Regions from separate parts of the Homo sapiens genome. Here regions 1, 2, 4 and 5 are each linked to region 3. The links are contacts of gene promoters, found by promoter capture Hi-C in blood cells and fetal thymus (Javierre and others, 2016). All regions are on one chromosome and are shown on one strand. Each heading gives the region's core, a stretch centred on a gene start or on the middle of the fragment in contact. The rest is flanking DNA. Distances are from core to core; before and after follow the strand shown.

What was found. The method cuts DNA at HindIII sites, captures the fragments that hold promoters and counts their contacts. A CHiCAGO score of 5 or more calls a contact.
Region 1: a fragment that was not itself captured here is called in contact with the fragment with the promoter of PLS1 in region 3 in 14 of 17 cell types (naive CD8 T cells, total CD4 T cells, total CD8 T cells and 11 more); the score reaches 12.0 in naive CD8 T cells.
Region 2: a contact is called between a fragment that was not itself captured here and the fragment with the promoter of PLS1 in region 3, in 4 of 17 cell types (total CD8 T cells, naive CD8 T cells, total CD4 T cells and 1 more). The highest score is 7.0, in total CD8 T cells.
Region 4: a contact is called between a fragment that was not itself captured here and the fragment with the promoter of PLS1 in region 3, in 1 of 17 cell types (megakaryocytes). The highest score is 5.0, in megakaryocytes.
Region 5: the fragment with the promoter of PCOLCE2 here is called in contact with the fragment with the promoter of PLS1 in region 3 in 2 of 17 cell types (M0 macrophages and M2 macrophages); the score reaches 5.4 in M0 macrophages.

What each region holds. Positions count from the first base shown.
Region 1 is chr3:143,007,238-143,009,937 of GRCh38, reverse strand. The region is part of intron 1 of U2SURP (U2 snRNP associated SURP domain containing); the gene reads right to left. Among named protein-coding and RNA genes, the nearest start is that of U2SURP, 7.0 kb to the right of the region's middle. The HindIII fragment of the contact is 5,594 bases long and covers 1-2,700 here.
Region 2 is chr3:143,027,088-143,029,787 of GRCh38, reverse strand. It overlaps U2SURP (U2 snRNP associated SURP domain containing), which reads right to left. Exons shown (of 28, transcript NM_001080415.2): 14 at 2,535-2,639; 15 at 1,382-1,448; 16 at 1,142-1,305. Among named protein-coding and RNA genes, the nearest start is that of U2SURP, 27 kb to the right of the region's middle. The HindIII fragment of the contact is 215 bases long and covers 1,187-1,401 here.
Region 3 is chr3:142,595,128-142,597,827 of GRCh38, reverse strand. It overlaps PLS1 (plastin 1), which reads right to left and starts at 1,435. Exons shown (of 16, transcript NM_001145319.2): 1 at 1,319-1,435. PLS1-AS1 (PLS1 antisense RNA 1) reads left to right here. Exons shown (of 4, transcript XR_001740938.2): 4 at 531-1,919. RefSeq lists an enhancer at 1,140-1,379. The HindIII fragment of the contact is 10,696 bases long and covers 1-2,700 here.
Region 4 is chr3:142,864,755-142,867,454 of GRCh38, reverse strand. All of the region lies in intron 2 of PCOLCE2 (procollagen C-endopeptidase enhancer 2), which reads left to right. Among named protein-coding and RNA genes, the nearest start is that of PCOLCE2, 23 kb to the left of the region's middle. The HindIII fragment of the contact is 1,202 bases long and covers 775-1,976 here.
Region 5 is chr3:142,887,730-142,890,429 of GRCh38, reverse strand. PCOLCE2 (procollagen C-endopeptidase enhancer 2) reads left to right here and starts at 1,347. Exons shown (of 9, transcript NM_013363.4): 1 at 1,347-1,616; 2 at 2,653-2,700. The coding sequence starts at 1,534. It overlaps LOC124909443 (a long non-coding RNA gene), which reads right to left and starts at 2,166. Exons shown (of 2, transcript XR_007096122.1): 1 at 1,971-2,166; 2 at 1-839. RefSeq lists a silencer at 1,355-1,404. The HindIII fragment of the contact is 10,419 bases long and covers 1-2,700 here.

The DNA of each region.
Region 1 (2,700 bases), core at 169-2,668, 410 kb before region 3:
TCAAATGAAATCAAGAATATTGAGATCACAAATATCTCACCTGACCCCAACTCCCAGACAAGATGTCATATAAAGTACAAGATAAAATATTAGTTTAAGAGAAAAACTGAAGATTCATGTTATTTAAAAAAGAGCAAAGATCCATACAGTATTGTTTTATTTACATTGTCCAGACATAAGGCTAAGAACAGCTGGTAAGATTTTTACACTGAATCAATTTACTCCTCTGAACTCCACTGTATTGCGCATTAGCATAGGCAAAAATCAGCCCAGGACAACAGGACAACCAAGCACTGGGACCCCTCCCATCTCATTCTTTCTTTCATTTTTTTTTTTTCTTGAGACAGAGTCTTACTCTGTCTCCCAGGCTGGAGTACAGTGGCGCGACCTCGGCTCACTGCAGCCTCCGCCTCCCGGGTTCCAGTAATTCTCCTCCCTCAGCCTCCTGGGTAGCTAGGAGTACAGGCACGCACCACCATGCCTGGCTAATTTTTGTATTTTTAGTAGAGACGGAGTTTTACCACGTTGGCCAGGCTGGTCTCGAACTCCTGACCTCAGGTGATCTGTCCACCTCAGCCTCTGAAAGTGCTAGGATTACAGACATGAGCGACCGCACCCGGCCCCATCTCACTCTTTCTGTCCATGGTTTTTCTGTCCCCAACTTTTGTGTCCACCCTGATTTTCTTCTAGCGGCTAATCTTTCTTAAATGTCAAGGTGGTATAAAAGAAAATTTTTAGTATTTATTAACTATGAAACACACCCTGAAACATATCTTGAAATGCATAAATTTACAAATATCTAGAAATTTAAAAATCCAAAAGAATAAATAACTACTCTTACAAAAGAAAAACAAGTTCAGGCAAGAGGCTGAAGGGACTGAAAAAAATCAACTGCCTGGGCCAGGTGCAGTGGCTCACGCCTGTAATCCGAGCACTTTGGGAGGCCGAGGCGGGTGGATCAAGAGATGGAGACCATCCTGGCCAAACCTGGTGAAACCCCATCTCTACTAAAAATACAAAAATTAGCCAGGCGCCTGTAGTCCCAGCTACTCGCTGAGGCAGGAGAATGGTGTGAACCCGGGAGGCAGAGCTTGCAGTGAGCTGAGATCGCGCCACTGCACTACCGCCTAGGCGACAGAGACTCCATATCAAAAACAAACAATAGTAACAAAAAAAACTCAATTGCCTTCCAATACACCAGTATTAACTTGCTAAGCAACAAAAACATCCTAATCATAAAAGCAACAAAAAATATAAAAACATCTAGAAACCAATTTAAGAAATGTATATAACCCTTGTGAAGAAAACAAAAACTTCGAGAAAAATCCAGTTACTCAAGCCACCTTTTCAAAAGATTCATATTACTGGATGGGAAAATTCAATATTAAGATAATGTCAATGACACCTAAATTTCTTTACATATTTAATACAATTTCATTCAACCGCTCTAAATTCCAAAGGGAAATATTTGCAAGGGGGCAAAAGAATTGCCAAAACAATTCTAAAGTTCACCCAGAAAGAATAAGCATCCAAAAGAATAACTAAGAAAGCGCTACCCTTTCTGTAGTCTTTGATGCCACCACATCCAAATCATCATTTCTAGGATTTAAAAACAAAAGATACAAGAACCTAGGCATTCTGCCTATTTCCATATAGTTAACTCTTCCCTGACTCCAAGTCATCAAAAGATGAAGCTCTATAATCTTCAAGGATCTCACTTGCGTAACCATTCACCAAATTAAATAATCTCTAATACAAAAATAATCAGTTCAAAAGTAACAATTTTGTCAGCTTTCAAAATTACACAATTTGATAAATTTGCAAACAGAGCAGTAACAGCATAGTGTAGCACAATGCACCGGTGTAGGACAATGCACCAGCTGATTTCAGTTAGCTTAAGATGTCACTAATCACATTTACTGCAAACCAGACATTTTCCACTGATACATACCTACAGCTACATAGCATTCAGCACGGAACTTTAACAGTTCAAACAGCAGTTAACACAATTTTTAAAATAATCATCAACTTCTAAAGATAACAGTCAAGGTAAACAGTAAATATAGCACTACTTCAGAAGCTGAGCTTCTCCCTCTTCCTAACCTGGAACTGAACTGTATTCTTTGTCTTGAGTTTGGCTTTTTATTTTTAACTGAAGAACACAAACCAATGATGCCTAAAGATCTCCTGAAGTCGGCCGGGCGCGGTGGCTCACGCCTGTAATCTCAGCACTTTGGGAGGCCAAGGCGGGCGGATCACAAAGTCAGAGGAGATCAAGACCATCCTGGCTAACACAGCAAAATCCCGTCTCTACTAAAAATACAAAAAATTGGCCAGGTGCGGTGGCGGGCACCTGTAGTCCCAGCTACTCGGGAGGCTGAGGCAGGAGAATGACGTGAACCCGGGAGGCGGAGCTTGCAGTGAGCTGAGATAGCACTACTGCAGGCCTGGGCGACAGAGCGAGACTCTGTCTCAAAAAAAAAAAAAAAAAAATCTCTTGAAAGGACCCAAAAGCTGCTGGAGGGAGTGGCTCATGCCTATAATCTCAGCTACTAGGGAGGCTGAGGTGGGACGACTGCTCGAGGCCAGGAGTTCAAGACCAGCCTGGGCAACATAGCAAGAACCCCTGTCTCTGGAAAAAAAAAAAAAGAAAAGAAAAGAAAAATACAAAAGGAAGAAGTGAAAAGGCAGACTAAGGGA
Region 2 (2,700 bases), core at 45-2,544, 430 kb before region 3:
TCCTTTGCATTGATAACTTGGCTCACTGTTTGGTGCAAGAGGCCTAGCTTTCAGCCAACCTCATCTTTTGACATGCCTTCCTAACTAAGCTTAATCATTCTAGCTTTTGATTTAACGTGAGAGAAGTGAGACTCTTCCTTTCACCTGAATACTCAAGAGGCCATTGTGGGATTATTAACTGGCCTAATTTCAATAGTGTTGTGTCTCAGGAAATAGGGAGGCCTAAGGGAAAACAGCTAGTCACTGAACAGTCAGAACACACCTTTTTTGATTAAGTTCATCTTCTTATATGACCATAGTTTGTGGTGCCCCAAAACAATCAAAGATCACTGATCACCATAACAGATACAATAATAATGAAAAAGTTTGAGCTATTGTGAGAATTATGAAAATGTGACAGACATGAAGTAAGCACATGCTGTTCGAAAAATAATGACAACAGATTTGTTTGACTTAGGGTTGCCACAAACCTTCAATTTATAAAACACACTGTATCTGCAGAGCACAGTAAGTCAAAGCGCAATAAAACTAAGTATGTCTGTACTTAATTCTATATTCTAAAAATGCTTTTAGCCAATGTTTTCCCATGAGGTATACAGGATGTCCTCTGAACATTTAATAAGTATGTTTTTGCTTCTTAAACCAGCTAGCTGCACTGTACAATTGTTAAGTGAGACTAATAACAACACATACTTCCATGGTGGCCATCTCACAGCTCACCACACACTGCAAATCAAGTGTGAAAGTTATCATGTAGCGGCTTTGCATAGCCACAATCTGATCCCACTAGCCACACAATAGTTTTTCTTCTTTATGTTGCATTCAGAGAAGCAAGAATTCTAGGGATCCTCCAATAATTTCTGTAAGAATCTGAAGTACTCCAATGCTAAAGAAATAAGTCAATCATGTTTAAGAGATCATCACTAATTTTACCAGGAGAAAACTCAAGGACAACAGGACACACACCTATACTTGTTAGGATGTTTAAAATTATAAAGCACATGATGAAAGATGTTACTATTTTAAACATTCACAAGTGAAAAAAATTTATTTTAGGGTTAACATCTTAATAAGACCATTAATTAAAGCAACCATTACAGTTACTTTTCTGAATATATAATAGAAAGGAAAAATATCTTACTCTTCCTTAAGTGCTCCCTTTTTACTAGGTTCCTCTACAAAAGCTTCTGTTTCTTGCTCTTCTGACATTCCATGCAAGTACGGATTTAATGGTGGTGGCCTCCAAAAAGATCCATTTTTGAACATACGAAAATCTTCCGTCCGCCATTTAGTTGGAGAATCTCCCTAACAAACATTTAGAGTTATTATAAAGGTCTAATTACTCAGAGTCAAAATTAACAAAGTAATTGATTCTACTTGCCTGCAGAATAGAATAAAGCTTCCACCTATAGTAAACATGGGCTGGTGTCTGGTTTTCAAATAAGAACCTACACAAAACAAACAAACATTAAACATCATATTCTTTAACAAAGAGCTATCTTCAATTAAATATAAATAAATGAGAAATATTATTTGCCTATTTAGTTCTAAATAAAACAAAAACAAAGATCCCTGAAGAGAATCTCACCCACTACCACCCGCTACCTATCCCCATTCCTTTACTGCAGCCCTAGACTGCCTTAGTGACTGACATTAATACTCAGAAGGCATGCATCATGAGTCTTATGATCGTTTTCACTGAACACTTACATGGCAGATACTGTGTCTGGCAATGGAGAGATTTTCCCAATATGTAATTACAAAAGCAGTGATTTTACATTACTTAAGTGTTAAACTAGTGTCTAAGAATACCGTAACAATTCAGAGGATAAGCAATTTATTTTAAAACTCATTTGTTCAACTGTATCTCACTTATGATTCCTTCATTGAAAAGCATAATGAAATGTATTTTCCTCCTAGAGAATGCTAAAAACAATACTATTTAATCAACCAAATCAAAATCTGATGGAAAATTGTCCTCAATACATTCTACTCTGATTACTAAAACTGTCTTCCCATCCCGTTGCAGAACTAATCCCATACTTTTACAACTTTATTCTTGGAAATATTTTTAATTCTAATAAATTAAAAGTAGTTTTAAACTGCATGCCTGAAGATAAAATATAGTAAATACATATAATGGAATATTATTTGGCCTTAAAAAAGGAAATCCCGATACATGCTATAATACAGATGAATCCTGAGGACATTATGCTAAATGAAATAAGCTAGTCACAAAAGGACAAATATTGTATGATTATACTCATGTGAGTTTACCCTGAGTAATGAAATTACTAAGAGACAGAAAGTAGAATGGCAGTTGCCGGGGCTAACGGGCTAGAAGACTGAGGAGTTACTGCTACACAGGTAAAGAATTTCCATTTTGGAAGATGAAAAAAGTTCTGGAGATGGATGGTGGTGATGGTTGTACAACAATGTGAATGTACTTAATGACACTGAACTGTATACTTAAAAATAGTTAAAATGGGAAATTTTATGTTACATATATTTCACAATTTTTAAAAAATGCACACCTGAACATAGGATTGTTGATTTCTCTGTTCATAATCATAGCTTCAAACATTGGCCCTTCACGTACAACAAACTCTATCATTCGATGTATCAGGGCGAGCAAATTCCTACAACAACAACACAGTTAAAGAAAATGGATTCAGACCTACCACTATATAAAACTACACT
Region 3 (2,700 bases), core at 186-2,685:
AGAGAAAAAGGAAGTTTAATAATGGAGGTAAAGAAGAGTATCTGCAGGGAGTGGTAAAAAGACCCCAGAAAATGAGAAAACCTGGATCCCAGGCCTAGCTTTGCCAATGAGGGGCTTGGGTGGCCACAGCAAGTCATCTAACCTCGCTGGTCTCAGTTTTCTCATTTGTAAACTGAAGCAGCTGAACTGGCTGACCTCAAAGGTCTCTACAGCCAAAACTAGACCAGCTGTATATTATTTCTGCCATTAAAACATTTATCATGGGAGGAATGAAGGGGGGCAGGATACCTGTATTCCCTTTCCATATAGGTTTCTCTTCCTGAACTTAAAATTTCCTCTTCCTAAACTTACTACCTCTCTCTCTATATATATATATGCCTCCACATTACACATTAACACTTTACTATAGAATTTCATTACATAATTCAACTTAAAGGAAAGCTGATTACAAAGGTGGTGGGGGGTGTAAAAGTACTTGCTTCAAGTTCAGTGTGTGCCCCCTGTCCTGAAATTTTGCTTCTGGCTCACAGGTTCTTCAAGAAATTTATGCAGCACAGCTGAAGCCTCATACAAGTGTATCCAACACCGTGGCTGGAGGGAAAGATATCACGGTATAAGCCATAAAATGTGACATAGTAAGTAAGTAAAGGAGGAAAAGTGAGAATTCTGTTACTCATCTAAACGACCGCTTCCTTTTAATAGTACCAAATGAAGACCGAAATACAGTAATAATTGAAAAGTTAGGGAGAAATCTTAAATTTTTTTAAGTCTCCACTTGAAAATGCAGCTGAAACACGGAAAGTTTTTTGGCAGTGAAATTCGCTGAAAACTGACATTTTTATGCCGCATCCAGAGGTCCCTATGCTCCAGGAAAGGTACCAAAAACAGCACGGATGGGATTTCACTACAGCCCTATTGATCCTATGCACCAAAAGGCCAAAGGCAAATAAACCAGTCCCAGAATTAAAACAAAACAGGCTGGTTCAGAAAGCCTCACCGGCAGCCACCCAAAGTTGAAAGAAGAAAACTTAATGAAATACCTTATTTCATTGCATAGAATCACAATTCAGTTAACAGGCTTATTGTTTAAGCAGTGTAAATACGCGATTTAACACCTGCGGGCACTGCCTGCCGGGACTGGGCAGAAGCGTGCCCAGAGGACGGCGGGCGCCACACTGCACAGCCAGGAGACGAGACGCGAGCGAGGGGACCCGGAGATACTGCCCCCGAGCCGCCGCGCGCCCCCAAAGGAGTAACGCTTCGCTTTCCATCTGTCTGTCCAGCCTTCCTTTTGGGCCCTATCCCCACCCCCGCGTACCTGCCGCCACCGCTGTCCTGCCTTCGAGAGGGCAGCTCCCACTGGAGATCCAAGTACCTGCAGGTCCACTCTGCGGCTACCTCTCCGCGCCCGCGTAGCCGCTGCGCTCGCGCCACTGCGCATGCTCGGCCGGCACCCGGGCCCGCAAACTCTGAATCCACTTGCCGCGTTTTGCCTGCGGCTCCCAGGGGAGGGAAAGGGAAGCCCAGAACCTGGGTTTAGGCTAAGGGTGAAAGAGGAGTTGCAGGCGCTGGGAGCGTGGATGGGGAGAGGTGGACGGGCGCTGCGGCAACGTTATCTCTACCGCCCACAGTTACCCAAGTCTAAAGATGACCACCTACACCCTGGGAATGAGTTTAGCACAGCAGTTCTCAAACTTGAGCGTGGATCAGAATCACCTGGAGAGCTTTTTAAATCACAGATCCCAAACCCGGAAACTGAGTTTCCGATTCAGTTAGGTCTGGAGCGTAGCGCGACAGTTCCCATTTCTAACATGTTCTCAGCGAAAACTGGTGCTACTAGTCTGGGTACCACACTTTGGGACCTGCTGGTCAAAAGGAAAGGTATACGTTATTAAAGGAAGACTTGTTTCTCTCCCCTACTCTTTTTTTTTCCGTTTGTTTCACGGATTGCTTCCTTTTCCTTTAACAGCCACACCTGATTAAAATAAATATATAACTAAAGCCCACACTCAAACAAAAGTGGGATATTTTCTCTCGCATGTGAGTCAGGTAAATGGAATGCTGCCTCAAGAGTTCTCACATACTTTGCCTGAAGCATAATCCGTAGTTGTGGTCTGTCCAACTCAGTCCAGAGAACAGAACAAGGTTTTGCTGCCCCTTTAACTCAAAGTCCCACGTGCCCCTTCTGCGCCTAACACAATATCCAATACAGAATAGGCACCCAACCAACCCTGAGATGGTAACAATAGAAAAAATAAAGGGGGGAAGTTGAAATTATTTTAAGAACTCAAACAAATTGGACGAGCAATGAACTATGAAAGTAGGTGGGCCATGGAGAGGGAAGATAAGGAATTTTTCCCACCTGCCACCTAGAGAATCAGGTGAATTTAGTATTCTTATCTGATTTTTCCCACCTGCCACCTAGAGAATCTGGTAAATTTAGTATCCTTATCTGATACTTATTTATCTAGATATGCAAGGGGAGTTAAGTAAGTTCTCACAAAATAAAGCAAAATATTTCCTTAAAAGGTAAACATACATCTAACATATGACCCAGCCATTTCATTCCTAGATGTTATCCAAGAGAAATTAAAACATATGCTTACACAAAAACTTGAACAGGAATGCTCATAGCAGCTGTTTTTCACAAAAGCCCCAAACCAGAAGGAACCCAACTGTCCAACAACATGTAAATGAAAA
Region 4 (2,700 bases), core at 126-2,625, 270 kb before region 3:
ATCTACTCATTAACAGTTACTTTTGATGAGCAGAAATTAAAACACTTGAAATCCAATTTAGTAGTTTTTAACTCTTGCAGTTACTACTTTCTTGCTACCCAAGATTGCAAAGATATTCTTCTGATATGGCTGTCTTGTCTGGGGAAACACCCAGGGTCCTTTATCTCGCACCAAGAAAATTAGCAACATGGACACACTCGTGGAGTGGATTAAGGAGCAGAGAGTTTAATAGGCAAGAAAGAAGAGAACAGCTCCCTCTACAGAGGGAGGTCTAACTGCCACATATGGTGGAAAACAGTCAGTTATACTGGGAGGCTCGAGGAGGCGGTGTCTGATTTGCATAGGGCCCAGGGGATTGGTTTGACCAGGCGTGTCATTCACATAGCCCTTGAAAAAACTGGCCCTCCCACCCTAACCTTTTATTATGCAAATGTGGCTTCTACCTGGCTGGTTGCCATGATACCTGTACACATGGCTTCTACCTGTCTGGCCACAATGTTACCTGCACACGCGGCAACAAAGAAAAGGGAGTGGGAACTGCCCTGTTGCGTGGACCTGGTTCTTAGCTGCCTGCATTTACATATGCAAGCCTGCTTGCTTGTCAATGCTTGCAGGTCTGGTTTTTCAGGCCATTTTCTGTTAGAAAAGAAATGTTTTGGGGGCTGCTTTTTTATTAAAAGAAAAAGCCTTACTGAAGACTCTTTTACCCATTCTAGCTGCCTAAAATAATTTCTTAATAACTCCTGTAATATATCTGTGTTTTTTGTAGAAGCTTATAATTTTAGCTTTTACATTTATGTCTGTGATTCATCTCAAGTTAATTTATGTATGGTGTGAGATGGGGTTATGATTCATATTTTTCAACATTTTTTGTTGAAAAGACTGTTCTTGTACCCATTATATTAGTCAAGATACTCCAGAGAAACAGTCAAAATATTTTATTTATTTATTATTGATTGATTGATTATGGGAATTGGCTCATGCAATTATAGAGGCTGAGAAGTCCCACCATCTGCTTTCTGCAAGCTGGTGAACCAGGAAAACTGGTGGTGTAAATCAGTCCAAGTTCAGAGACCTGAGAACCAGGAGGGCCTCTGCGTAAGTCCTGGAGTCCTAAGGCCTGAGAGCCAGGAGTTCTGATATCCGAGGGCAGGAGAAAATGGATGTCCCAGCTCAAGGAAGAAGAGAGAGAGAATTTGCCCTTCCTCCACCTTTTTGTTCTACTTGGGCCCTCAACAGATTGGAGGACGTGCACCCACACTGTTGAGAATGGATCTGCTTTACTCAGTCTACTGATTCAAATGCTAGTCTCTTCCAGGCAAACCCTCATACACACTCCCAGAAATCATGTTTTATCAGCTACCTTGACATTCCTTAGCCCAGTAAGTTGACACATACAAATCAACCATCACACTTATTGAAGAGCATTGACACCTTTGCCAAAGATTATATGTGTGGGTCTATTTCTGGACTCTCTTCTGTTCCATTGATCTGTTTGCCTATCCGGACTATTTTTCTCTTGCTTACAGGGAGTCTTTTAGACATCGTTATTATGGTGATACTTAACAACATATTAAGTGAACTACTTTTTTAAAAAGAGAAAAATAAGCCTTAGATTAAAAGACTATATCCACATTTCCTTGCTTCCTATCCAGTCACACAAATTATTCCAAGTTCTCCATACATTGATTTTGTTGACATATTTATATAATGAGCCTGCTGACTACATAATATCTGTATTTGTAGTTATTTCTAAAACTTCTTGTGTTTTAATTTTTACTCTTTTATATTATCCTCTAAAAAGCAGTGAGAGGCCCTCCATCCTTCACAGGATGTTGTTTCTTTTTATATTCTGTAGAAATTATGGCTGATCCAGAAATTAAAGTGAGAAACCAGTGTTCCTAGCCAATGCATTCTTCAAGAGATGTTGTTGTCAACTCACTTATTTTGTATGGGGTAACTTCATTAAACAAGCTTGTAAGGGGTTCCTTGCCTCTCACTCTTGGCGTAAAATGGATGTATGAAACCAGATTTTGCAGTGTGACTCAGATGTTCATCTTTATTACAAGTTAAGTTTTGATGCTTTTCTGTTTGTATTTTAAAAGTACTTTAGGGTTGACAATTTAAAAAAAAAACAGGCAAAAGATTTGAATAGACATTTCACTAGAGAAGATGTATAAATGGTCAATAAGCACATGAAGAGATGCTCAACATCATTGGTCATTAGAGAAATGCAATCAAAACCACAATAAGCTACTACTTCATACCCATTAGGATGACTTTAACAAAAAAAAAAAACACAGAGAATAGCAAGTGTTGTTGAGGATGTAAAGAAGTTGAAACTCTCATACACTGCTGGTAGGAATGTAAAATGGTACAGCCACTTTGGAAAACAGTTTCTTTTAAAGTTAAACATTTACCATATGACCAAGCAGTTGTACTTTTAGATGCAGGAGAAATGAAAATACATCCACATAAAGACTTGTACAAAGATGTTTATGGAAGCATTGTTAATAATAGCCAAAAGTAGATACATTTCAAATACCCATCAACAGGGTAAATGGATAAATATGTGGCATATTCATACAATGGAATATTATTCAGCCATAAAAGGTATGCAGTACTAATTCATGCTACATGGACCTCAGAGACACTATGCTAAGTGAAAGAAGCCAGATGCAATAGACCACATACTGTTTG
Region 5 (2,700 bases), core at 98-2,597, 290 kb before region 3:
TGTCGCCCGGGGCTGGAGTGCAATGGCGTGATCTCGGCTCACTGCAACCTCCGCCTCCCGGGTTCACGCGATACTTCTGCCTCAGCTTCCCGAGTACCCGGGATTACAGACGCACACCGCAACACCTGGCTAATTTTTTGTATTTTTAGTCGAGGCGGGGTTTCACCATCTTGGCCAGACTGGTTTCGAACTCCTGACCTCGTGATCCGCCCGCCTCGGCCTCCAAAAGTGCTGGGATTACAGGCGTGGGCCATCGCGCCCACCCGTGTTTAGATTCTTAACAGCTCATTATTAGAAATAAAGTCTCGATAAGAACTACTTTAATACTTAATTTTCTTGCTTAGAAAGGTGAAAACAATTTAGAAGGAACAACGTGAGGCATCAAAGTTAAGCTGTATCTCCCATAGCTGGTGATTATTAAAAATCTCTATGAATCTAGTCTGTTCCTGTCATTCTTTTATTAATCCCTGGTTATTGGGAAGCTCTTAACAAAATAAATGTTTAAAATTATATTTCTGTAATTAAGTAAAAGAGAGTATTGATTCCACAAGGCTAGAATTGTTCGTCTAAGAAAAACGAATTCTCCGTAAATTTTAACCCGTTAATACCACAGAAAGATGCTGTTGGAAAGGTCTAAGAACAGAGAGATGCAAGCAGAGAAACACCATTTTCAGAACATGACATGGGATGGTGAGATTTGCTGATTTGGTTCCGTCTTCATTATCTGACATTTAATGACAGTTCACACAGAAATCGCTCGCCTGAAAACCCGTGTTTAAATCCCGGCACAGAGACTGTCTTCCTTGTCATTGTCATACCAGTAAAAAAAAGAAAAGTATCTAGAGAGAGAGAGAGGAGAATAAGCACAGAAGTTAAAATACAATAAAATCCCTTTTCCCTTTCTTTCCTTGGATCTGGGTTTTGAAGGAGACAAAGAAGGACCCCCAGGCTTTCCAGCAGCCAGCAAGCGCTATTACTTTTTATTTAAAAGCAACTGGGAAAAACATTCCCCAAAGCAAAACCAGAAGCCCTCCCTGAGAATCGTCTCTGGGCGTCGGGGCCCGGGCCGCTGGGGTGCCACTCCGCAAGGGGTTCCTCTTCTCCCCGGGGTCCCTGAGGGCTGGACGAGAGAGGACCCGTCGGTCCCGGGGTGCCGGGAGGAGACGTTCGCCCGCCCCACGAGAGGGGGCGGCTCTGGCCTCGGAGCCGCCCCTCCTGCCGCCGGAGAACAAACGGGATATTCAGCAGTGGCCTGTGGCTGCCAGAGCAGCTCCTCAGGGGAAACTAAGCGTCGAGTCAGACGGCACCATAATCGCCTTTAAAAGTGCCTCCGCCCTGCCGGCCGCGTATCCCCCGGCTACCTGGGCCGCCCCGCGGCGGTGCGCGCGTGAGAGGGAGCGCGCGGGCAGCCGAGCGCCGGTGTGAGCCAGCGCTGCTGCCAGTGTGAGCGGCGGTGTGAGCGCGGTGGGTGCGGAGGGGCGTGTGTGCCGGCGCGCGCGCCGTGGGGTGCAAACCCCGAGCGTCTACGCTGCCATGAGGGGCGCGAACGCCTGGGCGCCACTCTGCCTGCTGCTGGCTGCCGCCACCCAGCTCTCGCGGCAGCAGTCCCCAGAGAGGTAACGCGACCCCTGCCCGGGCTCCCTTTCTCTCCTTTCCCTTCCTCCACCCCTGCAGCCTCGCCTGCTGCTTTACTCAACCCGCTTCGGCGCGCCTGGGTGACCCAGCGCTCGACCCTGCGCTCCCGCGCGGTGCAGGCGTCCGCCACCCTCGGGTAGGCTAAGCCCGGGACTTCGGGACCCATCCTTGCTCGCGGGGCTCCCTCCTGGGTCCCCAGCCCGGCCTGCCGGATGGCCCTGCAGCTGGCTTGGCCACCACGTGGCGGGGCTTAATCTGACTTGTGTCTCCCCTCTCCTCGTGTCTATGGGGCCAGAGGGAAGCACTGGGGCCCAAATATGTGGATTTTGGTTTACCGCTGTTTTTTTTCCTTCCCCGAGAGGCTTTGCCCAGAGACGTAAACTAGGGAACAACCCTAGCGGCGCGGCGCCTAGGGAGCCGCTCCGGAAAGTTAACTCTTCGCCAACCTCTGGAAGGCCCCAGGAGCTGGGCTGTGGGACCTGCCCGGTGGCCAACTTTGGCATCACCTCTTCAGCCTCCATCAACATCAGCCTCCCTTTCGATGGGAAGCTCTGCCAATGGCGAGTGATTTTCAGAAAGGGGGAGGAGAACTGGGCATCTCTCCAAATATGGGAACGACAAACTTTTTTTATATTAACCAATTGCTTGCCTGTCTTTCTTTAAAACCATGCTTCTCATTCAGCCTGGCTCTTACCTTCTCTCCCACTCCCCCAGTTAAATTGATGTATTTACCATTTTCCTACAAGACTTTGCCACAATGCCGAGGACTTGATTATACATATATATAATCTTGTGTTATTATGATGGAGACAGATGGCGCTGGACTGAATGCTTTGTCAGGCTATAATTTAAATATTCTAGGAGCTAGCAAATTTTCAGATCCCTTATATGGTGCAAGCATTGATTAATCAACATTAACTTTTATTTATATTAATAGGCTACACCTTTCTGAAGGTAACATCAGATTGTTAGACCATGTTTCAAATTACATTATCTTTTCTTCTTTTATGTTCCCAGACCTGTTTTCACATGTGGTGGCATTCTTACTGGAGAGTCTGGATTTAT